7 separate regions of the Homo sapiens genome follow, and regions 2, 3, 4, 5, 6 and 7 are each linked to region 1. Evidence: promoter capture Hi-C in human tissues and cell types (Jung and others, 2019). All regions are on one chromosome and are shown on one strand. The core of a region is centred on a gene start or on the middle of the fragment in contact, and the rest is flanking DNA. Distances in the headings are between cores, read along the strand shown. Region 1 holds the start of APBA3 (amyloid beta precursor protein binding family A member 3). Region 2 holds the start of SGTA (small glutamine rich tetratricopeptide repeat co-chaperone alpha). Region 3 holds the start of DPP9 (dipeptidyl peptidase 9). Region 4 holds the start of ZNF555 (zinc finger protein 555). Region 5 overlaps GNA15 (G protein subunit alpha 15). Region 6 holds the start of STAP2 (signal transducing adaptor family member 2). Region 7 holds the start of NCLN (nicalin).

Region 1 (3,968 bases), core at 868-3,367:
GGGTAGGAAGCCAGGGTCTCGGGGCTCTGGAAGAAGATAGAGGAGGGGCAGGACTGAGTCTCCCTGCTTGGTTCCAGGCAGTCCAGGATGCCTGGAGGGCGGGGCGGGCACTACCTGGGCACCAGCGGGTGGCTCTTCAGGTGTGACTAGAGGCACCGTCTCCAGCCAGGGTTCCGGGGAACTGCTTGAGCTCCTGCTGCCCTCCTGCTCAGCAGAGGCCCCCTCCACCCATTCTGGGGAGTCAGAATCCTCATCTGGGTCCTCAGGGGGCTGCAACAGTCGGGGGGCAGGCTCTAGAGGCTCTTCAGGACCAGTCTGGGAAGGCGGGCATTCCTCGCAGTGCAAGAGGCCCAGCAGGTCATCCCGGCCAGCTTCGGCAGACAGGAGCCCGTGGGCATCAGCAATCTCCTGGGAGGCCAGGCCATGGCCTGTGGCAATGTGTAGGGGACAGGGGGCTCCACCTGGGGATGGGCCCACCAGATCGCCTGGCAGAGCTTCAAACTGCTGCACCAGCTCCTGAAGGCTTGACTCATCAAGTTCCATCCGACTGAGGCTGCCGGGGCCTCCTGGCATAGGGTCCCACTGGCTGTCAGGGGTGAGGTCCTCCGAAGGCACAAGAATGTCCCTGGGCCCCTCCAAGTCCATGGCTGGAGGCCCCGAAGGGGATCGGGAAATTGTGGGGAAGTCCATGCCTGGACTCCAGGCTTAGGCCGGCATCTTCAGGCAGCTGAAAGAGAGAGAGTCAGCACTGAGGTTTCGCCCGGGTGCAGTGGCTCATGCCTGTAATCCCAGAATTTTGGGAGGCCCAGAAGGGCTGACTGAACCCAGGAGTTCAAGATCAGCCTGGGCAACAGAGCAAGACCCTCTCTCTACAAAAAATACAAAAAATTAAGGCCGGGCACAGTGGCTCACGCCTGTAATTCCCAGCACTTTGTGAGGCCGAGGCGGGCAGATCATGGGGTCAGGAGTTTGAGACCAGCCTGACTAACATGGTGAAATTCCGTCTCTACTAAAAATACAAAAAATTAGCCAGGTGTGGTGGCAGGCACCTGTAATCCCAGCTACGCAAGAGGCTGAGGCAGGAGAATCGCCTGAACCCGGGAGGCGGAGGTTGCAGTGAGCTGAGATCGCGCCATTGCACTCCAAGGTGGGCGACAGACGAGACTATCTCCAAAAAAAAAAAAAAAAACTAGCTAGGGGTGGTGGTGTAGGCTGTAGTCCCAGCTACTTGGGAGGCTGAGGTGGGAGGATCACCTGAACCAGGGGAGGCAGAGGCTGCAGTGAGCCTTGATTGTGCCACTGCACTCCAGCCTGGGTGACAGAGTGAGGCCCTGTCTTAAAAAAAACAAACAAACCCGAAAAACAAAAAACTTGAGGTTTCCCGGCTGCCTATCCGGTGCTAGGCTCTAGCTGGGTACTGTTCATACAGGGCACATAATTTAATACCCACTAACCCTTGCAAGGAAGTTAGGATTCCCATTTTACAGATGAAGAAACTGAGCCACAGAATGGGGAGGTGTGAGGCAGTGGCTTCCCGAGCCCCTGTGTCATCCCAGACCTCTCTCAACTAATGGAGTCTGTTCACTCCAGCCCTGGTTCTTCCAGGTCCTCCTCCCTCAAGACGCGGAACCCAGGCTGGAGACCCAGACCTCACACCCTGACTCTACCGACTGGTCAGAGGCAGTTCCCCAAGACCCCAGACCCAAGACCCCAGTCCCATGACCTCAACCCCCAATACCTCCATCCAGAACTTTAGACCCAGGACCCTGGACTTAATACCAGAGACCCAAGACGCCATAAGGCGGACCCCAGTCTCCAAACCTCCAATGCTACCCCAAGATCGACTCCAGACTCAGACCCCGACTTCAGGACCCAGCCCCAAGCCCAGACCCTAGTCCCCCCTCAGACCGAAGACCTCAAGCGCCGACTCAGACTGCGCTCTGCACCTCGAGGACACTCACTTCCCAAATCGAGGCCGCCTCAGCCCCGCGCAGCCTCCAGGACCCCGCTCCCCACGGACGGCCCCGACGTAGCCCGGGCCGCGTCCCCAGAAGGCGCAGCTCGGGGATTCCCGGTCCCGGCGCCCGCTCCTCTATCCGCGCAGAGCCCTGGCCCATTGAGCATGCGCGGCCTCGCGAGGCCTGCTGGGAAATGTAGTTCTCCCACCCAGCCTCGCCACGCGGGGGCGCTGGGACAACTGCAGATGTTGGAGGGGAGTTCGAATCCCAGGCTTCCCGGCCCGCAGACTGCCCCGGCTGGCCCCAGGACCTGTTTGTTCTCCTGCAAAATAGGGTTAATAATCACTGCCTGGCTCTGGGGGCTGTGTTCATTATTCCAAAGGATGGCAGATGGGGAGAAGTGGGGTTGGGAAATATTAAAGAAGTGTGAGAGGTGGTTTCCTTGGGACCTTGAGGCACCGGAAGCGTCGTGGAGACCCTGTTAAAGACGGACTTTCGGTTTGGCTCACAGTAGGGAGACACATAGGTGCACCATGGATTTGGGGTCGGCCTGGGAACTTTACCTCCCTGAGAACTCAGTTTCCTCATTATAAGCTGGGGAAAAAATAGTACCTACCTCTCAATTGTGAGGATTAAATTAGATCAAGCGGGTTAAGGATTTAGCAGTAGTAGAGCTGGAAAAGAATATATAAAATATATATTATTAATTTATATATTATATATAAAACATACTATATATTATATGTATTATATATGTTATATATAATTTTAAAAATATAATGTTATAAAAATTAACAGTGATTAGACTCCAGCCCTACTGGAGTATATTAGACTCATTGTTAATCTTCTTTTTTTAACTTTAAAGCTTTGAATAATTACTCATTGGATGGAATCAGGAACATATAAAGTGTGATATTTTTAGTAAATGTTATGTAATTGAAGAAGGGCAAGAAGTCAATGAAATATCCCTTGAACGCCTCCTCCTATAGTAACTGTGTATGTCTACAAAAGTCTGAAGAAATCACCATAGATTATGAAAGCTTGGGAGACCGCATTTCCCAGACACCTCCACGGGGCCTACACTTCCACGGGGCCTACAACTCCCAAACACCCTTGGGCCACTGACGTCTTCCGGAAACGTGCACTTGCAAGCTGCCCGCAATACGTCATGGCGACCAAACGCCTTTTCGGGGCTACCCGGACGTGGGCCGGCTGGGGGGCCTGGGAGCTCCTAAACCCCGCCACTTCCGGAAGACTCCTGGCCCGGGATTATGCCAAGAAACCAGGTGAGCTGGGTTAAGAGGAACCAAATGGGGACGGTGGGTGCACTGAGGAATTGACAGTGCGCAGGCGGTGGTTGGGGAGGTGGTGCTAGAACTGATGCGCAAGCGCAGAGAGGCGGATGCCAGGCTGTATGCGCAGGCGCAGTTTGAGGGACCCAGCGCCGCTTGGAGCTCGGGCGTCTGGCTCGGAGATACTGTAGCGATTGGACCCAGGGCGCAGGCGCCAGCTTGGGGCGGAGCGGCCTGGGAGGAGGATGTGGTTACGTGGAGACCACGCGTTTCACTGCGCAGGCGCGGGTTGGAAAGGATTTGAAGGGAGTCTGGGGAGGTCATGAACTTGGGTTCCAGTTCTGTTTCTCTGCCTGCCTCCAAATCGCTGGGTAACCTTGGCCAAGACGTTACCAAACATTCAAAGAAATTATGGAGCCCGTTTAATTGGCCACTTCAGCAAGAACAAAACAAGGTTATTAAGGTTTAGCTGGATACAGCCTTGCCTGATCTCCTTTGTTGAAAGGGGGAAATTGTCCAATGTTCGGCCTTAAAGACAGACACATAGCAGACAAAATATAACTTGAATGACTTGGTCATTCCAAGCATCGGTGTTACTTAATGCTATGTCCAAATCCCACTTAAAGTTACTTAATGCTGTGTCCAAATCCCACTTAAAGTGATTTCGAGGCCAGGCATGATGGCTCACACCTTTATTCCCGGCACTTTGGGAAGCCAA
Region 2 (3,968 bases), core at 587-3,086, 980 kb before region 1:
TAGCTCGAAATCAACTACAGGTAACGCATAAACCAAGGAGTGTGGCTGTGTTCCTACAAACCTTCATTCACAAAAACAGGCCAGAGGTGGATTTGGCCTTCTGGTCAGTTTGCTGATACCTTGCCTGGTTTAATCCTCACACACCTGAGGTGGTTACTATTATAATCCCCATTCCACAGAAGAAAAACTGAGGCTTGGAAAGATGGGGACCACCCGAGACCACCCAGCTCCGAGGATGAAAATGAGGAGTTCTGAACCCAGGCAGTCTGACTTGAGAAGCTAAACTCCAAAGTACCCATTTCTCTCTGCACGAAATTGGGTGCACACACAAAACTTTGTACACGATTTCCCGGGCCCACACAGTCCCAGCTGCCCATGCTGGTGAAGAATCACTGATCTAGGGTAGATTTTTTTTTTTTATTTTTGACAGGGTCTCGCTCTGTCGCCCAGGCTGGAGTGCAGTGGCATGATGTTGGGTCACTGCAACCTCTGCCTCCTGGGTTCAAGGGATTCTCCTGCCTCAGCCTCCTGAGTAGCTGGGATTACAGGTGCACACCACCATGCCCAGCTAATTTTCATATTTTCAGTAGAGACGGGGTTTCACCACGTTGGCTAGGCTGGTCTTGAACTCCTGACCTCAGGTCATCAGCCCGTATGGTAGGGTTTTTAAAGCATTATTGACATTTAAAGCTGGATCATTTTCTGGGGTGAGGCCGTCCTGGGTACTGCAGGGTGCCGAGCAGCAACCCTGGCCTCCACCAACTCCAAACCAGGGGGTCCCCCAAATCATGACAAGCACAAATGTCACCAAGAATCCCTGGGGCACAGAATTGTTCCTGGTTGAGAACCACTGGTCAAGGGAGGGAAAAGGCAGACAAAAGGAATAATCAGAGACAGAAACAAAAGAAAATGGGACAATCATTCAACCTCTGAAGGGCACACTACACTGCAATTTTCTGGCACCTAATAACAAAAACAGCTATTCTCAAGCCAGCTCTCTCTTATCAAGTTCCAGGCACCTGATCAAATAATTGAATGTGGGTTTATCCTCATAATGACCCTCCGAGGCATCTGCTTTTACAACTCGTTTGCGAAAGAAGGAACAGTTTGCTCAGAGAGGGAAGGCGACTCACCCAGGTTTACACAGCGGGTGGGAGGTGGTGGTGGACGGTCCTGAATCCCAGATTTCCCCCACCTCTAGCACGATATGCAGAAGAAGACTCTAAACATGATATAAGACGAACGCCTGCTAATTCTTTGGAGTTCTCAGATTCCGCTGGACCCTGCGGCTCTCCTTCTCCTAGGCAGGGACTTTTGAACAACGCCCGTTTTACAGAGGGGAAAACTGAGGCTCCGAGAAGCCAAGAGGCTGGGCAAGGTCACCCAGGTAGGGACTGGCGGCGCTGGAACCAGAGTTCCGACTTCAGTCCCCACAAACGGGGGTCCCTGAGTCACAGGGACGACGTTTCCAGGCGGTTAATAAGAGCGGAACGGCAGCGAACACCCAGCGAGCGCTCACTACATGCGGGGCGCCTTCCCCTCCCGCCGTCCTCGCCACCAGGCCGCGGACCAGCATTTCCAGGACCTGGGGCCTGGGGAAGGGAGATCAGGGCTCGAAGGGCCTGCCCGATGGCGCCCGGCCTCAGTTTCCCCTCCGCACCGCCTACTCACAGGACCCCGCGGGTCGCGGTGACCCTGGCCTCACGATCCCCAAACTCTTACGAGCTTTGGGGCCCCGTGGGCCCCGAGCCGCAGACCCCAGACCCACCAGGCTCAGCGCAGTGCCCCTCACTCACCTCTCAGGCGACCGATCCCCGACCCACCGACGGTTGCGCTTGCGCACCGCGGTGCCGCCCGGCCCCGGCCCCAGGGCGCGACGCCTGCGCAAAAGAAAGGCGCCCGGAGTTGCTTCCCTTCTGCACAGGCGCGTTAATGATGGAGGCGGGCGTGGAAGGAAGTGACGCAACGTAGAGGCGGGAACCAGCTGGTTGTTAGGGCAACTGACCTCTGCGACCTAATGGAGGCCGGAAATCGGGTCTGGTTTGCCCTCTAGAGCGGGAATGAAGCGGTGCACGGTGGAACAGTGGCTGACTCCAGCCGGTCGCCGAGCTGACCACGTGGTGCTGGGCCGGCCACGTGGTGCAGCCGCGTTTGGACACCTGGACTCCAGAGCGTCACAGCTGCGCAATGAATGGGAGTCAGTGTTACCCGCTTACTATCTTTGTTCATTTATTCACCCACCCATCTACTCACCCACAAATGCATTCTTTCATGCAGTGTGAGACGTTTGTGAGTATAGAGCCATTTGTAGACAGCAGGTGCCTAATATTCATTCAATATTTATTGCAAAGCAGCCATAAAAACCAGCAAAGTGTCTACTCTCATTATTTTGCATTGGGGTAGACGGACTATAAACTAATAAACTAGTACATAAATAGAGAAACAAATTTCACAGCAAACACTAAGAAAAAAAAAATGAAGGTAGTGTGATTGTCACTGGGAGCTAAGTCGCATGGGATGGGTAGGAAAGATCATCCTTTACATTTGGATTTCAAGGATAGGAAAGTCCAAACGGACCCCAGGCACAGGGAACAGCGAAAATGAACGCCGATGTAAAATTAATCTTGGTGTTGCTCAAGACATGTGATGAGACATTTCCAAGGACGACAGAAAACTGATCACCATCTAAGTTACAGTTGCCAGAAATGTTCTCCCAATTCATTTTCGTCCTACTCAAAATACATGCACGATTAATGGCGTGGATTATTTTAATTTCTTTTGCAGAAATAAAGGAGGTGAGGCCGGCCGTGGTGGCTCACGCCTGTAATCCCAGCACTTTGGGAGGCCAGGGGGCAGATCACTTGATGTCAGGAGTTCGAGACCAGCCTGGCCAACACGGTGAAACCCTGTATCTACTAAAAATGCAAAAATTAGCCGGGCGTGGTGCGGGCATTTGTAGTCCCAGCTACTCGGGACGCTGAGACAGGAGAATCGCTTGAACCCGAGAGGCAGAGGTTGCAGCGAGCCGAGATCGCGCCATTGCACTCCAGCCTGGGCGACTGAGCGAGACTCCCTCCAGCCCCTCCAAAGCAAAAGAAAACAAAACAAAAACAAAAAAAGGGAAGAAAGGAGGTCGGTTGTTTTGGTTTTTGCCAGTTTAATTGTAGTACATTGTTTTTTCTGGGTGCCCTAACAGTTCAAGACAGATGGTTCAAGATGTTTTTTGTTTTAACCCACAACACTGCATGTAGGTCAGGCTACTGCACTGTTCCACAACACCTGTTATTTGACATGAATCCGTTTACTTGCTTTTGTTTCTGACAAAAAAAAAAAAAAAAAAAAAAACTTGGCCCGGCGCGGTGGCTCACACCTGTAATCCCAGCACTTTGGGAGGCCGAGGCGGGCGGATCACGAGGTCAAGAGATCAAGACCATCCTGGCCAACATGGTGAAACCCCCTCTTTACTAAAAATACAAAAATTAGCCGGGGTGGGGGCTGGCGCCTGTAGTCCCAGCTCCTGGAAAGGCTGAGGCAGGAAAATTACTTGAACCAGGGAGGCGGAGGTTGCAGTGAGCCGAGATTGCTGCTACTGCACTCCAGCCTGGGCGACAGAGCGAGACTCCGTCTCAAAAACAACCAAAGCACCAAAACTTCTGGTTAATTTAATTGATTCGTCGGATTCAGATGCTGGAAAGTGGGCCTGGGATATACAGTAAGCGATCAATAATAACACTGGCCCAACACACAGCTATAAGAAGCGAGGCAAGTACACATTAACGCGGTAGCCTGAAGCCCAAGCGAAGTCTCAGCGCAATGAGCCGCGCAGAGGCTCAGAGGCGTCAGCGGCGTGCGCGGTTTCCAAGGAAACCGTCCGTCCTAGCCACCCCAGCGGCTCTGGAATGGTAGAGCAAGAGGCTCCGCCCACGCACCGCCGAGACCAATAACGGACCGGGAGGGTTACGGCGAGT
Region 3 (3,968 bases), core at 370-2,869, 960 kb after region 1:
CACCCCTCCACCAAATCCTGCTGAAATCAGCACTCTCCCCTTCCTCTCCTCAAAGCCTTCAAAAAGCTCCTTCCAGGGGCAGCTAGAGGGGGACAGGGGTGGAAAGAAAAGCCTCCAGCAGGCGCACAAAAAACTGCAGCCACTGCCCTGCGGAGGACAACCATCCAGGGCCATAGAAAACCATTTCCTGCCCATGTCTATATTCTAGAGCAGGCAAAGGAATCCCACCAGCCCACACCCCAGCCTTCCTGGCTGCCAAACCCCAGCACAACTGACCTTCTAAAGGGTCCAGAGAGCCTCCATTCCAGCTGCAGGCGTGGGACACAGACCTTTATAGGATAAACATGTCATGAATGTGGCAGGTTAATGGAAGCACCGGCCAGCCGTTCAGCCTCCCCCACTCAGGAGCTGCAGACTGTCAGGCCCGATTCTACCTGGCTAGATTCTAGCTCTGCCTTGAAGCCCTGCAGCACTGTCTGCATGCCCTGGACAGAATCTGGGAGAGAAGCCATCCCACGGGCCCCGATTCCCCTGGGACCCAGCAGAGGAATGCAGGGATTGGTGCCTACGGTCCACACCCCCTGGGCTTTAGTCCCAGCTCCTCGAAAGCAGGTTGGTTCTTGCCTGGGAGGCAAGTGACTTCCTCCTGGGGCCCCTGGGGAAGACCAGGGGGTGGGGGCCAAGGGAATAGACCACTTTTGATGGCTCAGAGGCAGCGTGAACAGGGAAGTGTCAGGGCTGGCCTAAGGCTGTGTGGGAAGAAGGTAGGCGGTTGGACAGGCCTGAGAAGGGAGGCTGAGAGAAGGGGGCTGAACCCTGTGGGCTGGACCCTTGGAAGACAGCTATGCTAACCACTACACCACCAACGCCTCGGCAGGAAAAAGAGTCTCTGGATACCCTTAATAGAGGGATCAAGTAGGGTTGAGGATCAGGACTGGATTGGGGAGACCAAGCCTCGGGGCGAAGGTTGGAGGAAGTGGTAAAGGAGTGAGGACAGGATGCAGGTCGAGGGAGGTGGCCTCTGTGCATATACAGCATTTGCATGGGGAGAGGGAGGAGATCGGGACCTCCAGAGCCTGCACGAAAGGGGAGAGGGTGTCAAGGTCTGCAGCTACGAGGACGTTCTTGGGTGCGGCCACCTCCGGAAGGGGTCAGAGCCTGGTGGCCTGGGCAGCAACGGGATGGGTGGGGAAGCCCATCAGGGAAGGGGAGAAACTGGGAGGTGGCCTGGCCAGCGCAGGAATCGGGGAGGGAAAGAAGGTGGAGGAGGGCCTGGGGCGGAGAGGAAACGAGGCAGGGGGCCGGAGGGACCCACAGACGGGTGCATGGAGGCTCCGGGGTGCGGGGAGGCCAGGCGATGGCGAGGGCAGGGTCAGGGCCGAGGCGGGGCCGGTCAATGGCGGGTTCAGGGTCGCGGCCGGGGCGGGACGAGGCGCGCGGGCGCTGCTCACCGGGACGTGGGGCGGCGGCCGGACTGGGCAGGTCGTCCCGGGTCCAGCGGCGCCTCACGGTCGCGGCTCCATGCCCGGGACTGCGACCCCGGAAGTGGCGGGAGCGGGGGACGACAGCCGCGGCGGACACAGGGGACCCGCCGGCTCAGGCACCTTTGACCCGGAAGTTGAGCGACCCAGGCGGCGGCCTGGGATTGGACACCACCAGGCACGTACCAAGGCGTCCGCGGCGCTTGGGGGGGAGCCCGCGGCGCGGCGGCCTAAGGTGCGTAACGCCCCATGAACGACATCTTCCGGTGGGTTAGGGAGAGACACCCCCCTGTGACTTGGTATCACTCAGTCAAACCCATGATCCCCCACTATTAAGGATATCCGGAGAGGATGCTACCTATCAGGGCGTTGGTGGTATAGTGGTTAGCATAGCTGCCTTCCAAGCAGTTGACCCGGGTTCGATTCCCGGCCAACGCATGCGGTACCACTTTTGCGAGTTTGAAATTTTCATTTTAGTTTTGAGACGGAGTCTCGCTCGGTCCCCCAGGCTGGAGTGCAGTGGCGTGATCTCCGCTCACTGCAACCACCACCTCCCAGGTTCAAACGATTCTCCTGCCTCAGCCTCCCAAGTAGCTGTGATTACAAGCGCACGCCACCACGCCCATCTAATTTTTGTATTTTTAGTAGAGATGGGGTGGGGTGGGGCGGGGTGGGGCGGGGTGGGGGGGGGGGGGCGGTTCACCATTTTGGCCAGGCTGGTCTCGAACTCTGACTTCAGGTGATCCGCCCTCTTCGGCCTTTCAAAGTGCTGGGATTACAGGCGTGAGCCATCAATCACGGAAAATTTTTTTAAATCCCATAAAAATGTCTAAAAGGCAGGAGGAAGGCGGAAGAGAAAGAATGGGACTAGAATCGTTCTTTCGGTGAATTTCAAATAGTATTACTCTCCGGTTAGGAAAAACAGCTGACCTGTTTCCGCCCGGGATCGAACCGGGGACCTTTCGCGTGTGAGGCGAATGTGATAACCGCTACACTACGGAAACCGGTAGGCGTCAGGGTTCTTTAAATTCTCCTATAGAGATAATGTTGCAGTGATAGTTGCGTTGTCCCACCAAAGAAACACTGGCTACAGTCAGCTAAAGCAATATCCGCTCTTCCTGAATATCTGTTATTGTATTTGATACAGTAGAGACCGAAAGAAGGAAAATAAGGAAGACAAAAAGAAATCCAATAAACACCCTTTCCAACACACCCACCCACCCACACACATGTTTATCACTTTATCATAAATCCACCTTCCATTAAAACAATGCACGTCAAACGGCCCACAAACCCATCCGGGGTCAAATGAAGCTTTTCATCTCATAGATATCAATCTATACTTGATATCACATTAGTTTCTGCAGATATTCACCATTTTGCTTTAGATCAAACTACTTTTTTGTGTGTTTTGTTTTTTGTATTTTTTAGAGAGAGTCTCGTTCTGTCGCCTAGGCTCGAGTGCAGTGGTACGATCATCCCTCCCTGCAGCCTCCACCTCCTGGGCTCAAGCGATCCTCCCACCTCAGCCTCCTGGGTAGCTTGGACCACAGGTGTGGACCACCACGCCTGGCTGAATTTTAAAAAATGCGTTTGTAGAGACGGTGCCTTATAGCTGGGACTACAGGCGTGTGCAACCACTCCCAGCTAACTTTTGTATTTTTTGTAGAGACTAGAGGGCCTGCACTATGTTGCCCAGGCTGCTTTCCAGCTCCTGACCTCAACGTGATTCGCCCGCCTGCAGCCTCCCAAAGTACTGGGATTACAGGCATGAGCCACCGCGCCCGACCCCAACTACACTGTAAAAGAGCTTTCTGAAAAGAAAAACTGTGTGTGTATGTGTTTACCTTCCGATGGAGTTTTGCTCCTGTTGCCCAGGCTAGAATGTAGTAGCGCAATCTCAGCTCACTACAACCTCCGCCTCCCGGATTCAAGCGATTCTCCTGCCTCAGCCTCCCAAGTAGCGGGGATTACAGGCACCCGCCACCACGCCTGACTATATTTTGTATTTTTACTAAAGATGGAGTTTCGCCATATTGGTCATGGCTGGTCTCGAACTCCTGACCTCAAGAGATCCGCCCGCCTGAGTCTCCCAGAGTGCTGGGATTACAGGCATGTGCCACCACGCCAGGCCTCTTTATTTTCTTAAAGAGACAGTAGAAGAGGTGGGAAGATGATGGCAAGAATTTAGAATCAGACTGCTGTAAAATTCTGCACACCCTCACTCCTGCGGGGCTGGGATTAGGGTGAGGAGACTAAAGCATTGTAAGGCACTGGCACCAGGTGCAAAAATTAAGGTGGTGCCAAAAAACTCAATAATCAAGATAAATAATATTTCAATACATCTTTTTTTCTCTCTCTGTTGTCGCTGGAGTACAGTGGCACAATCTTGACTTACTGCAACCTCCACCTCCCAGGTTCAAGCTATTCTCGTGCCTCAGCCTCCCTAGTAGCTGGGATTACAAACATGAGCCACTATGCCAGGCT
Region 4 (3,968 bases), core at 671-3,170, 920 kb before region 1:
ATTTAAACTTTTGCGTGTTTTTCTTATATCAGTTAAAATAGGGATTCAATATCCTTAGAAATATAGCCTTTTCTGTTTTAAATATAACATCTAAAAATTGTAGTAAAATACAAATAACAAATATTTACCATGTTCATCATTTTTAAGTCTAAAGTTCAGTGGCGTTAGATACGTTCCTGTTGTGCAATATTATAGACTTCCTTTTTTTTTTTTTTTTTTTTTTGAGACGGAGTCTTGCTGTGTCCCCCAGGCTGGAGTGCAGTGGAATGATCTTGACTCACTGCAACCTCTGCCTCCCTGGGTTCAAGCGATTCTTTTTGTTTTTGTTGTTGTTGTTTGTTTGTTTGTTTGTTTTTGAGACGGAGTCTCGCTTTGTCACCCAGGCTGGAGTGGTGGAGTGCAGTGGCGCGATCTCGGCTCACTGCAACCTCTGCCTCCCGGGTTCACGCCATTCTCCCGCCTCAGCCTCCCGAGTAGCTGGGACTACAGGCACCCGCCACCAGGCCTGGCTAATTTTTTTGTATTTTTTAGTAGAGACGGGGTTTCACCGTGTTAGCCAGGATGGTCTCGATCTCCTGACCTCGTGATCCGCCCGCCTCGGCCTCCCAAAGTGCTGGGATTACAGGCGTGAGCCACCGTGCCCGGCCTCAAGCGATTCTCTTGCCTCAGCCTCCCTAGCTGGGATTACAGGTGCGCGCCACCACGCCCGGCTAATTTTGTATTTTTAGTAGAGACAGGGTTTTGCCATGTTGGGCAGGCTGGTCTTGAACTCCTGACCTCAGGTGATCCGCCCGCCTCGGCCTCCCAAAGTGCTGGGATTACAGGCGTGAGCCACAGCGCCCGGCCAGCTTTTCAATCTTCCAAATTTTGGGGGGATGTACTTAAAAAAATGATCTGAAAACATTTTCCTTAGAGTTTAAAATATGAACTTGAGAGTTTTTTTGTTTTTTAATATGGAGTCTCACTCTGTCGCCCAGGCTAGACTGCAGTGGGGCGATCTCGGGTCACTACAACCTCCACCTCTCGGGTTCAAGCAATTCTCCTGCCCCAGCATCCCCAGTAGCTGAGATTACAGGCGCCCGGCACCACGCCGGGCTGATTTCTGTATTTTTAGTAGAGAAAGGGTTTCACCATATTGGCCACGATGGTCTCAAACTCCTGAACTCAGATGATCCGTCCACCTCGGTCTCCCAAAGTGCTGGGATTACAGGCGTGAGCCACTGCGCCCAGCCAAATGTGAGGGTTTTAATGAACATCTCATATCTTCTGGTTGATTTGAGCAAAGCTCCTGCCCCCTGCCAGGCTTTGGGTTCGGCCTCCCCCAGACCGGGTCTCCGGATTCGCAGCCCCCTGGGCGGGGTCTCCATGTCGCCCGCAGCGCGATGACGTCACGTCTGCGGGTCCCGCCCCCACGTAGGTCTCGGCCCTTCGGACCCGGCGCCCAGCCCCCGTTCGCCCTGCCAGGCCCGGGCCGCCCGCTTGCATCCACCTCCTGTCCGGACAAGGGGTCGCCTCGTGAGGAAACTAGTCTGGAGTTCCCACGCCCGTCCCGGAGGAGGACGCGGGCGGGGCGCCCGAACTGCGGGGAGAGGGCGATTCCGCCCCGGGCTGAAACCAGTTCGCCCAGAAGCCAGTGTCCCCGCAGGGCGGGACAGCCACGCGTGTTCGCAACGCTCCCGTCACTCACCGGCAGGGGGTGGGCCCTAGGGAACTACCCAGTCAGGACGGGCGGGGGCGGGGCCGAGACAAGTATCCAATGAGGGACGCCCAATCGGAATCCGGGGAACTGCCCAATTTACAGCGCCAGGGGACGGACTGGGGAATTCTCCAATCAGAGTCGCCGACGTTGGCAGCACTGTCCAATCAGAAGCGCGGCTTCCCGAGCTCTGTCTAATCAGGCCCCTGGGACGGGACGCCTCTGTCCTAGCCGTGAGTGCCCCGCCTGCCCCTAGCGGTCCCTGGCGTCCCGGTTCCTGTCGCGCTCACCTGCGCCGGTAGCGAAGAAATCGCCCCGGGACATGGTGAGTGTGGCGCAGGAGAGGATCCCGGTGCGGGGCAGCAGGAACCGGCGACCGCCCGAGACCGCGGCTTGGGGGGAGCTGAGGGACGCGGGGGGCGGCCCCGGCGAGGGCGGCGCAGGACGGGAGCCTGGGCCCCGGGGGTCCCGCCCGGCCCCGCCTCCCGCGCTGAGGTCGCGGCTAGGGCGCTCCGAGCTCCGGGTCCCCGCCCGCCTCTGGCCCCAAGGCTGCAGAGCGGGGAGCGGCGCCCGGAGCCCGACTCCGTCCCCGTCGTCCCGGGGTCCCCGCGTCCCTGCGCTCCCGACCCCCCACGCCCCGCCCGGGGCCGCGACGCCTCGGAGCGTTTCGCTGCGGCTTCGGGACCCCCGGGCCGCGGGAGGCAGAGTCGCCCGAGACCCCGAGGTGCGGTCCAGGCTCCCCCGGGACCCGCCCTGGGGCCGACGCCGCGGTGCCTCCTGGGGTGCGGGTCCCTGGTCGGTGCCGCCTCCGCTCGCGCTCCCGCGGCTCAGCTCCTTGGAGGCCCCGCGCCTCCGGCCGCGGTCTCTGGGGGACCCTGGGTTCCTCCCGGGACAGCCCGGGAGCGGTGGGGCCTCGGCGGGGGCGGAGACGCCCCCACCTGCAAAGGCAGCCCCTGGGGCGTGCGAGGTTTCCTCCCCTGAGTCCCGGTTTTCCTTCTTGAGGACTTCTTGTCCCCTCTGACCCCAAGATGCCTGGGGTAGGTAAGGGGAAAAAAAACAAGGGTTCCTGGTCCCTGGGCTCTCACACACAAGGAAGAAAAGTAACTGAAAAGACTAGAGAAACAAGGGAGAGCGAGGACCCCAAAAGCAAACGCACGCAGACCCACAGCGGGGACGCCCGGGAGGCTGGTGCATTAGTGTCCTCGGACTGCTGTAGCAACTGACTGCAAACGAGGGGGCTAAAACCACGGAAATATATTCTTTCACGGTTCCCTAGAAAGTGTGGATTTGAAGACGTTTCTCAGTTCTGTTTTGAGTACTAGCAATGGGATTCCTTGCTGAGGCAACACCTGAGTTGGGGGTGGGAGGGCGTCCGTCGTGGTAGCCTGGCCAGACTTGACCCCTCCCTGGGTTTGTCACTGTGAAAAGATTTTCCTTTTTTCGAGTCAGCAGTTTTTAGGAAGTGAAACGTACATTTAATTAGTAGAAGTTGGAAGATAAAATATTTCCAGGCCGGGCGCGGTGGCTCAAGCCTGTCATCCCAGCACTGTGACAGGCCGAGGGGAGCAGATTACTTGAGGTCAGGAGTTGGGGACCAGCCTGGCCAACATGGAGAAACCCCGTCTCTGCTAGAAATACAAAAATTAGCTGGGCGTGGTGGCGGGTGCCTGTAGTCCCAGCTACTCGGGAGGCTGAGGCGGGAAAATCACTTGAACGCAGAAGGCGGAGGTTGCGGTGAGCTGAGAACGCGCCATTGCACTCCAGCCTGGGTGACAGAGCGAGACTCCGTCTCAAAAAAAAAAAAAAACTTCCAACGGGGTGAATTTCAGGAAAAAAATTAAAATCTGTGTCTTACATTCCATTTGTTAAACATTCCCTGGAGTGTGTGTCGTTTCTCAGATCTGTTATTTTCTGTTTTCTTTTATTACTATTATTTTTTTGGGAGCTCTGTTGCCCATGCTGGAGTGCACTGGTGCGATCACAGCTCACTGCAGCCTCCACCTCCTGGGCTCAAGCAATCTTCCTGCCTCAGCCTTCTGAACACAGGGACTCCAGGTGTGTGCCGCCATGCCTAAGCTTTTGTATTTTTTTGTTTCTAGGGATGGGGTCTCATTCTGTTACCCAGGCTGGTCTCGAACTCCTGAGCTCAGGTGATTCTCCCTCCTCGACCAGCCTTGTTCTTTTCTTTTGAATGACAATAAATAGGATTCCAGGGCCTAAACTTCAAAATGTTACTGGGGAGAAGAGTCTCAGAGAAACAGAGAAAATCTCC
Region 5 (3,968 bases), core at 772-3,271, 600 kb before region 1:
AAGCACATCACTCATATCAGCCCGGATTCAAAAGAAAGAGACTCCATCTCTTGAAGGCAGCATGACACATGCATACAGGGAGGGAAGGAAGTGACGGCAGCCATCTTGGAGATAACTTGCCTTCATGTCCTGGGGATGCCGTAACAAAGTACCACAAACTGGGTGGCTTAAAACAACAGGAAACAACAGAAGTCCAAAGTTAAGGTATTGGCAAGGTTGGTTCCTTTTGGAGGCTCTAAGGGAAAATCCATTCCATGCTTCTCTCTCAGCTTCTGGTGGTGGCCTACAATCCTTAGCTTGTAGACATATCACTGCAATCTCTGCCTCCATGTTCACATGGCTGTCTTCTCACCATGCCTTTATGTGTCCTCTCCTGTTGTTATAAGGCCACCAGTCATTGGATTTAGGGCCCATACTTTGGTATGACCACTTTTTTTTTTTTTTTTTTTTTTTGAGACAAGGTCTTGCTCTGTTGCCCAGGCTAGAGTCCAGTGGTGTGATCACAGTTCACTGCAGCCTCAACCTCCTGGGCACAGGTGATCCTCCCACCTCAGCCTCTTGAGTTGCTGGGACTACAGGCGCACACCACCACACCTGGGTAATTTTTGTATATTTCTGTAGAGACAGGGTTTCGCCATGTTGCCCAGGCTGATCTGGAACTCCTGGGCCCAACCACACATCTGTCATCCACCTGCCTTGGCCTTCCAAAGTGCTAGGATTACAGGCGTGAGCCCTCATGCCTGGCCATGACCTAATTTAACTTAACTAATTACATCTGCAAATATCCGATTTCTAAAAGTCATATTCTGAAGTTCCAGGTGGACATGAATTTTGGGGGACACTGTTCACCTCAATATACAAGCAACCATAGTAGATGAGTCCTTAGTACATGCTTGACACCAGGTCCACAATCAGTAAACATAAACTTTGGTGAAGTCACCAGGTTTTGATCCCTGGTCTTGTCATGTCTCAGAGCCCATGAGGCCAATTTTAGCCAATTATACCCACAAGATTCAGGGTCTGGGAGATAGACGTCAAGTTGTTCCAGGATGGTGGCCTGGATAGCCCCTCTTCCTTGCCAAGCAGCCCTGGGAATCAGCTCATAGTTTAGAGAATTTGGGAACAGGATAAGGTAGATATTTTTTTCATTCAGGTCAAAGGGAACCACCCATGACTCATCCTTGTCTCCCAGCACAAGTGACTGGTGCACTCTTTGCTGACTCCCAGCCCTACCCTCCACTGTGCTAAATAATATTTGTGATAATAATAAGAAACCACACTTTGGGAGGCTGAGGCGCGCAGATCGCTTTAGGTCAGGAGTTTGAGACCAGCCTGGCCAACATGGCAAAGCCCCATCTCTGTTAAAAATACAAAAATTAGCTGGGTGTGGTGGCGGGGGCCTGTCATCCCAGTTACTCGGGAGGCTGAGGCAGGAGAATCGCTTGAACCCAGGAGGTGGAGGTTGCAGTGAGCTGAGATCATGCCACTTCACTCCAACCTGGGTGACAGAGTGAGACTCTGTCTCAAAATAATAATAATAATAATAATGATAATAATAATAAAATTGATAACAGCAGCTAACACATCTACCGCACTGGTGGAAGCACTCTACAAAGCTTCTTTAATCTTCATGTTAAAACCCTATGCAGGGCTGGGCACAGTGGCTCACGCCTGTAATCCCAGCGCTTTGGGGGGGTCAAGGCGGGCTGATCATTTGAGGTCAGGAGTTCGAGACCAGCCTGGCCAACATGGCAAAACCCCATCTCTACTAAAAATACAAAAATTACCTGGGCATGGTGGCAGGCGCCTGTAATCCCAGCTACTGCCAAGATTGCACCATTGCACTCCAGCCTGGGCGACAGAGCGAGGCCCCATCTCAAGAAAAAAAAAAAGAGGACTCTCTTCCCCTCGTTTGGCCTTGATGCCGCCATCTTCACAGTCCTGGGATATTTGTCTATGCGATTCCAGTCTTCCAACTGCACTGGCTGTAAGCGAGGCCAAGAGAGTGTCTCTCTTTAACACAGTTCTGCCCGAAGTCCCAGAGCTGGGTCTCATTGGTCCATTTCAGGTCACATGACTCGTGTGAGACAATCTCCTGTGTTCCCATTGGCTGGGCCGGAGTCGTGTGACCAGCTATGACTACAAAAGATGGAGTCAACGCACAGAAAAATGACAGGCGCGATCCCTGGGTCCCTTCAGTGCTGGTTACAGGGAAGAGGGTCTCCAGAGGCCCCCTGGGTCCAAAGAGGGAGGGTCCTCACCCCCTTCCCACACTGTTTCCCCAGGCCCTAAGCAGGATGCTGAGGCAGCCAAGAGGTTCATCCTGGACATGTACACGAGGATGTACACCGGGTGCGTGGACGGCCCCGAGGGCAGCAAGAAGGGCGCACGATCCCGACGCCTCTTCAGCCACTACACATGTGCCACAGACACACAGAACATCCGCAAGGTCTTCAAGGACGTGCGGGACTCGGTGCTCGCCCGCTACCTGGACGAGATCAACCTGCTGTGACCCAGGCCCCACCTGGGGCAGGCGGCACCGGCGGGCGGGTGGGAGGTGGGAGTGGCTGCAGGGACCCCTAGTGTCCCTGGTCTATCTCTCCAGCCTCGGCCCACACGCAAGGGAGTCGGGGGACGGACGGCCCGCTGCTGGCCGCTCTCTTCTCTGCCTCTCACCAGGACAGCCGCCCCCCAGGGTACTCCTGCCCTTGCTTGACTCAGTTTCCCTCCTTTGAAAGGGAAGGAGCAAAACGGCCATTTGGGATGCCAGGGTGGATGAAAAGGTGAAGAAATCAGGGGATTGAGGACTTGGGTGGGTGGGCATCTCTCAGGAGCCCCATCTCCGGGCGTGTCACCTCCTGGGCAGGGTTCTGGGACCCTCTGTGGGTGACGCACACCCTGGGATGGGGCTAGTAGAGCCTTCAGGCGCCTTCGGGCGTGGACTCTGGCGCACTCTAGTGGACAGGAGAAGGAACGCCTTCCAGGAACCTGTGGACTAGGGGTGCAGGGACTTCCCTTTGCAAGGGGTAACAGACCGCTGGAAAACACTGTCACTTTCAGAGCTCGGTGGCTCACAGCGTGTCCTGCCCCGGTTTGCGGACGAGAGAAATCGCGGCCCACAAGCATCCCCCCATCCCTTGCAGGCTGGGGGCTGGGCATGCTGCATCTTAACCTTTTGTATTTATTCCCTCACCTTCTGCAGGGCTCCGTGCGGGCTGAAATTAAAGATTTCTTAGAGGCTGCGTCGCCAGCGTCCTGTTTATCCCCTCTGCATTCCTTTCTCGGCTTACGTGTCCCGGGGGCAGTGCTTACAGTGCGGGGAGCAACGTGGAGTAGGAAGGAAAAAAGTTATACTTCTTGTCTACCCACCTGTCCTGGCCATGGTACCCAGAACTGTGGAGGCTGTGAGTCCCGCAAGCCGGGACGTGGAGTCCAACCTCCCTCCCAGGCTGGGGGGGACATTGAAGCAGACTCCTCCGTGGCTACTGACCTGAAATTCCAGTAGCAGCCCCCACCCAGCTTTGAGAAGGCCTCTTACTATCCTCAGGGCAGTGTTCTGGGGTGCAAGCCGTAGCACCCCACTTTACAGGTGAGGAAACCGGGGCGCAGAGAAGTGGAGTAATTTGACTAAGCTCACACACCTGGAATTGACAGAGGCAGGAGCCTGTTCCTACGTTGAACACATTTGTGGTTTTTTATTTGTTTGTTTTTTGAGACAATCTCACTTGGTTGCCCAGGCTGGAGTGCAGTGGTGCGATCTCGGTTCACTGCAGCCTCTGCCTCCTGGGTTCAAGTGATTCTCATGCCTCAGCCTCTGCAGTAGCTGAGATTACAGGCACCCGCCACCACACCTGGCTACTTTTTTTTTTTTTGATGGAGTCCCGCTCTGTGGCCCAGGCTGGAGTGCAGTGGCGCAATCTCGTCTCACTGCAACCTCCACCTCCCAGGTTCAAGTGATTCTCCTGCCT
Region 6 (3,968 bases), core at 905-3,404, 580 kb after region 1:
CCCCCAGGTTTGAGTGCAATGGCTTGATCTTGACTCACTGCAAACTTCGCCTCTCAGGCTCAAATGATTCTCCTGCCTCTGCCTCCCAAGTAGCTGGGATTAAGGCGCCTGGCACCATACCCAGCTAATTTTTGTATTTTTTAGTAGAGACGAGGTTTCACCATATTGGCCAGGTTGGTCTTGAACTCCTGACCTCAGGTGATCCGCCTGCCTCGGCCTCCCAAAGTGCTGGGATTACAGGCGTGAGCCACAAGCCCGGCCTCCCCCATTATCTTTCTTAACTGCAGTGATCTACTGGCTCTAAAGGGTTTGTTGGTTGGGGAGGATTTGGATGTATGGAGGTAGAAGGAAAGTCTACTCCACTACAGGTAAGGGAACCTCAGGGGCAGAGGCGGGGACATGGGCAGGGAGGAGCTGGGGGTGTTTGTTTTGATCTGTATTAGAAAATGAGGCAGTCATGGTGGCTCACACCTCTAATCCCAGCAGTTTGGGAGGCTGAGACAGGAGGATCACTTAAGGCCAGGAGTTTGAGACCAGCCTGGGCAACATAGCAAGACCCCATCTTTTTTTTTTTTTTGAGACGGAGTCTTGCTCTGTTGCCCAGGCTGGAGTGCAGTGGCACGATCTTGGCTCACTGCAACCTCTGCCTCCCAGGTTCAAGTGATTCTCCTGCCTCAGCCTCCAGAGTAGCTGGGATCACAGGCACGCACCACCACGCCCGGCTAATCTTTGTATTTTTAGTAGAGACGGGGTTTCACCATATTGGCCAGGCTGGTCTCAAACTCCTGACTTCAGGTGATCCACCTGCCTCAGCCTCCCTAAGTGCTGGGATTACAGGTGTGACCCACTGCGCCTGGCCAGCAAGACCCCATCTTCAAAAAAAAAAAAAAAAGGCTGGGTGCGGTGGCTCATGCCTGTAATCCCAGCATTTAGAGAGGCCGAGACAGGTGGATCACCTGAGGTCAAGAGTTCAAGACCAGCCGGGCCAACAAAATGAAACACTGTCTTTACTAAAAATACAAAAATTAGGTGTGGTGGTGCGTACCTGTAATCCCAGCTACTCGGGAGGCTGAGGCACGAGAATCGCTTAATCGTTTGAACCTGGGAGGTGGAGGTTGCAGTGAGCCGAGATGGTGCCACTGCACTGCAGCCTGGGTGACAGAGTGAGACTCAGTCTCAAAAATAAATAAATAAAATAAAAGCCAGAAGAGGCAGTGCATGCCTGTGGTCCCAGCTACTCAGGAGGCTGGGGCGGGAGGTTCACTTGAGCCCAGGAGTTTGAGGCTACAGTGAGCCATGATCGTGCCCCTGCACTCTAGCCTGGGTGACAGAGCAACTCTGTCTCTAACAAAAAGAAAGAAAGAAAATGAATATGCGGCATTGGGAAGGAGAGATAGGGCCTCACGGGGAACGGAGGGGCTGGGACTTTATTCTGAGGGAGACATAAGCACACACACACACACACATGCACGCACTGTCCATGGCAACTATCTGTCCTGTGGAATGTGGCCCCCGCTAGCTCTTACTGTCCTCACATGTCACCTGTCCTGGCCTTCGCCCCAGCAGCTGAGGTTCACGGAGTTTTTCCTGGGCTGGGAGCGGGAGGAAGCTCGGGAGTCAGAGGACTCCCCATTTCCTGGAGGAAGTCCCTGATCTTGTTTGTATTCAAGAGAGTGAACGAGAGACAAAAGCAAAGATTGAGACAAAGAGAGAGGGAGACTGAGACAGACATCGGGAGAGACAGACGGGGCCAGGGAGAGAGAAAGAGAAAAAGAAACCAAATTCAAAGACACACGGAGACAGAGATAGACGCACAGAGAGGCAGATGGCCAGAACCCACCCCAGTCCCCCAGCACGTGTCCTGCCCCATCCAGCACCCACCCCGCCCCCCCTTGGCGAGTGGGGAGACAGGGACTCAGAGAGGTGCCGCAGCTCCCCACGGTGGCCCAGCAGGGCCAGCCCCCGCCTCCCCACCTTACCCGGTCACAGGGCCCCTTCTTCTCTAGAAAGCTCTCATAGTAGTGTGAAGGCAGGACACCCTTAGGCTTGGGGACACGGGGTGGCCTCAGGGCAGAGGCCATGACGGAGCCAGGGTCTTCCGCCTGGCCTCTCCTTCCAGTGGGTGCCCCAGCTGGGCCGGGAAGCTGAGAAACAGGTTTCAGGGGAGTTTCCTGTGTCAGCCCGTCAACTCCCTCCCCTGCCAGGGCTGGGCAGAGGCTGATCCCAGCAGGTCCAGTGATCCTAGGGAAATCCCCGCCTCTCCGGTGTGGAACTGAGAACAGAGAGAATGTATAAGTCTACTTGAATGGGAGAATAATCTTCGCTATATCTGCAAAGACAGAGACATGGTCTGTCTCTTTATTTATTTATTTATCTATTTTTCCTATTTTGAGACAGAGTTTCACTCTGTTGCCCAGGCTGGAGTAAAGTGGTATGATCTTGGCTCACTGCGACCTCTGCCTCCCGGGTTCAAGAGACTGCGCTGCCTCCCGGGTTCAGAGACTGAGTCCAAGCTCAGTCTCCTGACTAGCGTGGATTGCAGGTGACCGCCACCACGCCTGGCTAATTTTTGTATTTGTAGTAGAGACGAGGTTTCCCCATGTTGGCCCAGGCTGGTCTCGAACTCCTGACCCCAAGTTTTCTGCCCGCCTCAGCCTCCCAAAGTGCTGAGATTACAGGCATGAGCCACCACACCTGGCCCTTTCTCTTACTTTGATGGACCCTAATGATTACATTGGGCCCACCTGGATAATCCACGCTACTCTCCCTATTTTAAAGTCAGCTGACTAGCAACTTTAATTTCATCTGCAATTTTTCTTTTTTAGACGGTGTCTCATTCTGTTGTCGATGCTGGAGTGCAGTGGCACGATCATAGTTCACTGCAGCCCTGACCTCCCAATCTCAAGCGGTCCTCCTGCCTCAGCCACCCGAAGAGCTGGGACTATAGGTGGGCACCACCACACCCAGCTAATTTATTTTCCTTTTTTAAGGATGAGTTCTCACTATGTTGCCTAGGCTGGAGTACAGTGGGGCGATCATGACTCACTGTAGCCTCGACCTTACAGGCTCAAGTGATCCTCCAGCCTCAGCCTCCAGAGTAGGTGGTACTACAGTTGCATGCCACCACACCTGGCTAATTTTTTTTTTTCTTTTTTTTGAGACAGACTCTCGCTCTGTAGCCCAGGCTGGAGTGCAGTGGCGTGATCTCGGCTCACTGCAAGCTCCGCCTCCCAGGTTCATGCCATTCGCCTGGCTCAGCCTCCCAAGTAGCTGGGATTACAGGTGCCTGCCACCACGCCCAGCTAATTTTTACACTTACTAGAGACAGGTTCTTGCTATGTTGCCCAGGCTGGTCTTTTTTTTTTTTTTTTTTTGAGACAGAGTCTTACTCTGTCACCCAGGCTGGAGTGCAGTGGAGCGATCTCGGCTTACTGCAACCTCTGCCTCCCAGGTTCAAGCAATTCTCCTGCCTCAGCCTCCCGAGTAGCTGGGATTATAGGCACGTGCCACCATGCCCAGCTAATTTGTTTGTATTTTTATTTTAGTAGAGATGGAGTTTCACTGTGTTAGCCAGGATGGTCTTAATCTCCTGACCTTGTGATCCACCTGCCTCGACCTCCCAAAGTGCTGGGATTACAGGCATAAGCCACCGTGCCCGGCCCTCAGGCTAGTCTTGAACTCCTGGGTGCAAGTGATCCTCCAGTCTAGGCCTCCCAAAGTGCTGGGGTTACAGGTGTGTGCCACTGTGCCTGGCGTCTATCTTTAATCTTCAAATCCCTTTGCCACGTATCCTAACGTATTCACAGATTCTGGGAATTAGGGCGTGGATATCTTTAAGAGACCATTATTCTGCCTACCACAGCCTGTTTAATATGGTGGACAATTGATTAATTTTGAATACTGAATCAGTCTTGGGTCCCTGGAGTAAACCCCACTTGTCATGGTGTATAATTCACTTTATATATTGT
Region 7 (3,968 bases), core at 833-3,332, 580 kb before region 1:
CTGCAGGCATGATAAGCTAGGGTAGTTCTTATCTTTTCCTGATTCCTGTTCTCTGTGTGTTTAGTGGGGACCACAGCAGGCAGGGTGGGGTGTTGGTGGAATTTGGGATAAGTGGAGTCTGGGCAGGCCTGGAGCTCTCTGTCTGCCTTCTGGGCCCGTGTTGGCTGACCCTGTTGCCCCCTCTGCCCTGCTTTGGCTGAGCTGAATTATTTCTTGGTCCTTCCCTTCTGGGGGCTTCTCGCTTAACCTCCTTTGTTGTCCCTGATAAAGGGGCCTTGTTAGCCCGCACCTTCCCTCCTTCGTCACTTGACTTCTGCCTGCTCATTCTTTGTACCTTAGTTTTAGCGTCACCTCCTCCAGGAAGTCTTCTTTGATTTCTCCTCCTCCCTAGGTCTCCTCTAGGCTCCCACAGCTGCCTGTGTTCCCTGCATGACAGCTCTGCTTTATACTGGGCACAACTTTCCCTCTTTCTTCACTCATCTGCTCTGGCTCATCTTTTGAGTTTCAGCTTAAGTGTCACCTCCTCCAGGAAGCCTCCTCTGATTTCCTCTCCTCCCTAGGCCTCCTCTGGGCTTCTCCCAGCTGCCTTTGTGTCCTCTATCCCAGCTCCCATCACCCCTGGTCACACAATCCACCTCCTCCTTTGGACTTCGAGCTCCGTGTCGGTGGATAGTGTGGCTTTGCTGGGGTCCCGGCTGTGTCCCCAGCACCCACCACACGGCTGGCACACAGTAGGTGCTCAGTGACCCAGCAGCACACTCAGAAACTCCCTTTCTAGCCGGGCGCGGTAGCTCACGCCTGTAATTTACAGCTACTCAGGAGGCTGAGACACAGGAATTGCTTGAACCCAGGAGGTGGAGGTTGCGGTGAGCTGAGATCAAGCCACTGCACTCCAGCCTAGGTGACAGAGACTACATCTCAAAAACAAACAAACAAACAAACAAACAAACAGAATTCTCACATGCTGCTGGCAGGGAGAGTGCTTGATTCTTTATCATTATATCTGAGGAAACTGAGACTCTGAGAGGTGAAGCGACTTGCCCAAAGCCACACAGCTGGGAAATGGAGGAGTTGGGATTTGAGCCCAGGCTCTTAATCGGCACCAATGCCACTTCTCACTTGGGACAGAAAGGAAGCCCTGACTCCTTAGGCAGCTGTACGGAGCCTGGGATGATAACGTGCTGAGAGCCAGGGCTACTGTCTGCTGCACCCTGGGGCTCAGTCTCCCCATCTGTACAAAGGGACGTTCCTTAGGTACCTCCAGCCCTGAGACACTGGGTTTTAACTTTAAATTTCTGATGAACAACAAATACTTTTTTAGTATAAGTATGCCCCAAATATGAATAAAGATAAATATAAATACCTGCCACCGACCCCTGCACAAACCGCAGGTTCCAGACTACAAGTCCCACAACCCACTGCGGCCTCCCTTAGGAACTGACTATCATGACTTTCTATTTTTCATTCATTCATTCAAAAATGGTATAGGCCACCCGCCGTGCGCCAGGTCTTGTGCTAGATGCCGGGGATACATCATATGCACAAAACAGACAAAAGTTTTTGCCTTCGTGGAGTTTGACATCTACATCCTCGGGAGTTTTAAGTGATTTTTGTTTTTCTCAGCAATTTCTGCCAGGACGACTACAGTTCCCGTGACCCTTTGTGTGTTTGACGGGACTACAACTCCCAGAAGACCTAGCGCGCCAGGCAGGCACTTCCTTTTCTCTTTATCCCCAACTTCCTTCCAGGTCGCAAGGTCACGTCCTGTCCCCACCTTTCGCCCCTCACCCTAGCTCCCCCAACGCCAAAGACAAGGTTAAGAAAGTGATATCGCGAAATAGTTTTTTAAAGCATTTTATTGCATTTTATGACTTGGAGTTTATGTGAAACCTCAACGGTATTAGCCGAACAGCCTGCCGCACCTTCCGGGAGTTCCAGAGTGGGCCTACAACTCCCACAGGGCTCCGCGAGCGCCGGACGGACGGACTACAATTCCCGACAGGCAGCGCGGCTGGCGGGGCGGTTCGCCGCGGTGCCCACAGGACCTCAGGGCGAGTGCGGGCTGCCCCGCGCGGCGCCCGCAGGACCCCGGCGGCTACCCATGCCGAGGTGAGTCCGCGGGAGCCGCCGCCGCCGCCGTCCCGTCCCAGCTGCCGCCCCGCGCGGCCCCGCCGCCGGCCAGGATGCTGGAGGAAGCGGGCGAGGTGCTGGAGAACATGCTGAAGGCGTCTTGTCTGCCGCTCGGCTTCATCGTCTTCCTGCCCGCTGTGCTGCTGCTGGTGGCGCCGCCGCTGCCTGCCGCCGACGCCGCGCACGAGTTCACCGTGTACCGCATGCAGCAGTACGACCTGCAGGGCCAGCCCTACGGTGCGTGTCCCCGGCCCACCCTCGGGGCTCCCCGGGCTCCCCGGCCACGCCACTCCGGCCCGGCGATCCCCAGGCCGATCCCTAGCTCCGGCCTGGGCTGCCCGACCCATGCTCAGGCCCCAGGCGAGGCAGAGCCCTGCCGCCCTGGACCCCCGGGCGCCCTGGAATCCCTGCTCTCCTTGCCTAGCGCCCAGGGACCCCCCGCGCTCGCTCCCACAGCCCCCGGCCCCTGCCTAGGTCTCCCTGCCCCGGAACCCATGGCCGGGCCAAGCGTCCCGCGTCCCTGGAGCCCTAAGTCCCCTCTCTCCTGTCCCCAGCTGGGCCGGCGTCTGCCTGCCTTGCCGAGTTTCTCCCTCCTGGGCCCCCTCCGCCCCTTAGGCTTCCTGGTCCGGGCTCACTTGAGCAGACGCTCCCGTCCTGACCTCCAGCTCCCAGGGTCCTGTTCTGGAGACCATCTGGTTGGTCTCTGGATTCACTGGGTCACGTCCGTGTTCCCAGGCCTCTCGCCTTTAGCTGACTGCGTTTGGAGTTAAAGGTCCCTGCACTGATTTCTGCCAGGCTGAGCCACCCGACGCGGTGGTCCAGCATTCCCCACCCCCTCCCACGGCCCTGGGTGCCAAGTGCATTTTGTCCAGTGCCCAAATTCAACTCCCCTGAATTTTCTCGCTCTAGTCACCGGCCCCCACGTCAAGGGCACATTTGTCCCCAGACCCCTGACGCTCTCTGGTCCCAGTTCGTGAGTCATGTTTCAGAATCTGCTAGCCCAGCTTCCCTGGTCTCCTCCCACGTCCCCAGTTCAGTCCACTCGCCTGGGGTTCCCTTTGACCCCCTTTCTGTCCCGCCTTTGATGCATACCCACGCCCTCAGCTCAGCCTCCTCACACCCACTTCCCAGAACCCCACTTGTTCCATCTTTCCAGGATTTCCTCTTCCCTTTCCAAATTCGCACCCCCTTGCCCTTGCATTCTGCAAGTCTCCCACTCAACAGCCTCGCCCCCTCCCGTCGTGGCCCTGACCCCAGTGTCTAGACCATTCCACATCCCCTTGTCTTTGCCTGGCTATAGCTGTCCCTGACATTCCAGAACCTGGTCCCTGGTTTTTCTTCTTTTCAGCCTGGCCCCTCAGGTCCCTGGAAGTCAAGGCCTGGCCTTCCCTGTGAAGGAGTCCCGTCCGCTTGTTCTCCTGGCCCCCTTAGTTCCCAGCCCGGATTCTCTTGGATTGGTCCCTCTCGTCACATCTCAGGCTCAACCTGAGGCGCGGGGACCCCCAGCTTCTGCCAGCCCTTGGGGAGCCCATCTCTGGAGATGGAACCAGACTTTGGCCTCAGGTCCCATTTTGCCCCAGAGTTACGATTTTTTTACTTAGAGCCATTGTTGTCAACCGAGGGGACGCTGGGTGATGTCTGGGGACATCTGTGGTTGTCACGACCACGGGTGCTCCTGGCATGGAGTGGGTGGAGGCCAGGGACGCTGCTCAATTCCCTGTAGTGCCCAGGACGGCCCCACCCCAGAGAACGATCCGGCCCTAATGTCCACAGTGTCCAGGGGAAGCGCCCTGGGGCCACAGTGGTGGTGTATAAACCCAAGGCCCAGGCTCTGGAGG

The links. The method cuts DNA at HindIII sites, captures the fragments that hold promoters and counts their contacts. A contact is called where the count stands out against the background at its distance.
Region 2: a contact is called between the fragment with the promoter of SGTA here and the fragment with the promoter of APBA3 in region 1, in 1 of the 25 tissues and cell types used here (small bowel).
Region 3: a contact is called between the fragment with the promoter of DPP9 here and the fragment with the promoter of APBA3 in region 1, in 2 of the 25 tissues and cell types used here (hippocampus and pancreas).
Region 4: the fragment with the promoter of ZNF555 here is called in contact with the fragment with the promoter of APBA3 in region 1 in 1 of the 25 tissues and cell types used here (pancreas).
Region 5: a fragment that was not itself captured here is called in contact with the fragment with the promoter of APBA3 in region 1 in 2 of the 25 tissues and cell types used here (aorta and stomach).
Region 6: the fragment with the promoter of STAP2 here is called in contact with the fragment with the promoter of APBA3 in region 1 in 2 of the 25 tissues and cell types used here (aorta and hippocampus).
Region 7: a contact is called between the fragment with the promoter of NCLN here and the fragment with the promoter of APBA3 in region 1, in 1 of the 25 tissues and cell types used here (pancreas).

What each region holds. Positions count from the first base shown.
Region 1 is chr19:3,759,575-3,763,542 of GRCh38, forward strand. It overlaps APBA3 (amyloid beta precursor protein binding family A member 3), which reads right to left and starts at 2,118. Exons shown (of 11, transcript NM_004886.4): 1 at 1,962-2,118; 2 at 115-727; 3 at 1-26. The coding sequence starts at 690. MRPL54 (mitochondrial ribosomal protein L54) reads left to right here and starts at 3,108. Exons shown (of 3, transcript NM_172251.3): 1 at 3,108-3,244. The coding sequence starts at 3,127. LOC105372248 (a long non-coding RNA gene) reads right to left here and starts at 3,066. Exons shown (of 3, transcript XR_936268.1): 1 at 2,984-3,066; 2 at 2,575-2,632; 3 at 2,180-2,280. RefSeq lists a silencer at 2,003-2,320 and an enhancer at 2,982-3,471. The HindIII fragment of the contact is 13,428 bases long and covers 1-3,968 here.
Region 2 is chr19:2,781,437-2,785,404 of GRCh38, forward strand. It overlaps SGTA (small glutamine rich tetratricopeptide repeat co-chaperone alpha), which reads right to left and starts at 1,837. Exons shown (of 12, transcript NM_003021.4): 1 at 1,797-1,837. RefSeq lists enhancers at 603-702, 2,199-2,268 and silencers at 1,759-1,808, 3,754-3,863, 3,894-3,968. The HindIII fragment of the contact is 32,124 bases long and covers 1-3,968 here.
Region 3 is chr19:4,722,223-4,726,190 of GRCh38, forward strand. DPP9 (dipeptidyl peptidase 9) reads right to left here and starts at 1,620. Exons shown (of 22, transcript NM_139159.5): 1 at 1,452-1,620; 2 at 277-329. TRG-TCC1-1 (tRNA-Gly (anticodon TCC) 1-1) reads left to right here and starts at 1,848; the gene lies at 1,848-1,919. TRV-CAC3-1 (tRNA-Val (anticodon CAC) 3-1) reads right to left here and starts at 2,485; the gene lies at 2,413-2,485. It overlaps LOC105372250 (a long non-coding RNA gene), which reads left to right and starts at 658. Exons shown (of 3, transcript XR_936274.2): 1 at 658-764; 2 at 2,398-2,487; 3 at 2,913-3,365. RefSeq lists silencers at 1,421-1,570, 1,801-1,890, 2,341-2,540. The HindIII fragment of the contact is 28,361 bases long and covers 1-3,968 here.
Region 4 is chr19:2,839,555-2,843,522 of GRCh38, forward strand. ZNF555 (zinc finger protein 555) reads left to right here and starts at 1,921. Exons shown (of 4, transcript NM_152791.5): 1 at 1,921-2,021. The coding sequence starts at 2,019. RefSeq lists silencers at 1,382-1,491, 1,502-1,691, 1,912-2,211, 2,252-2,301. The HindIII fragment of the contact is 15,507 bases long and covers 1-3,968 here.
Region 5 is chr19:3,160,508-3,164,475 of GRCh38, forward strand. GNA15 (G protein subunit alpha 15) reads left to right here. Exons shown (of 7, transcript NM_002068.4): 7 at 2,286-3,242. The coding sequence ends at 2,512. Among named protein-coding and RNA genes, the nearest start is that of GNA15-DT, 7.3 kb to the left of the region's middle. RefSeq lists enhancers at 1,944-2,238, 2,042-2,903, 2,904-3,764. The HindIII fragment of the contact is 7,338 bases long and covers 1-3,968 here.
Region 6 is chr19:4,336,673-4,340,640 of GRCh38, forward strand. It overlaps STAP2 (signal transducing adaptor family member 2), which reads right to left and starts at 2,155. Exons shown (of 13, transcript NM_001013841.2): 1 at 1,980-2,155. The coding sequence starts at 2,081. The HindIII fragment of the contact is 19,957 bases long and covers 1-3,968 here.
Region 7 is chr19:3,183,848-3,187,815 of GRCh38, forward strand. NCLN (nicalin) reads left to right here and starts at 2,083. Exons shown (of 15, transcript NM_020170.4): 1 at 2,083-2,367. The coding sequence starts at 2,184. RefSeq lists enhancers at 1,161-2,043, 1,350-1,489 and a silencer at 2,000-2,569. The HindIII fragment of the contact is 11,170 bases long and covers 530-3,968 here.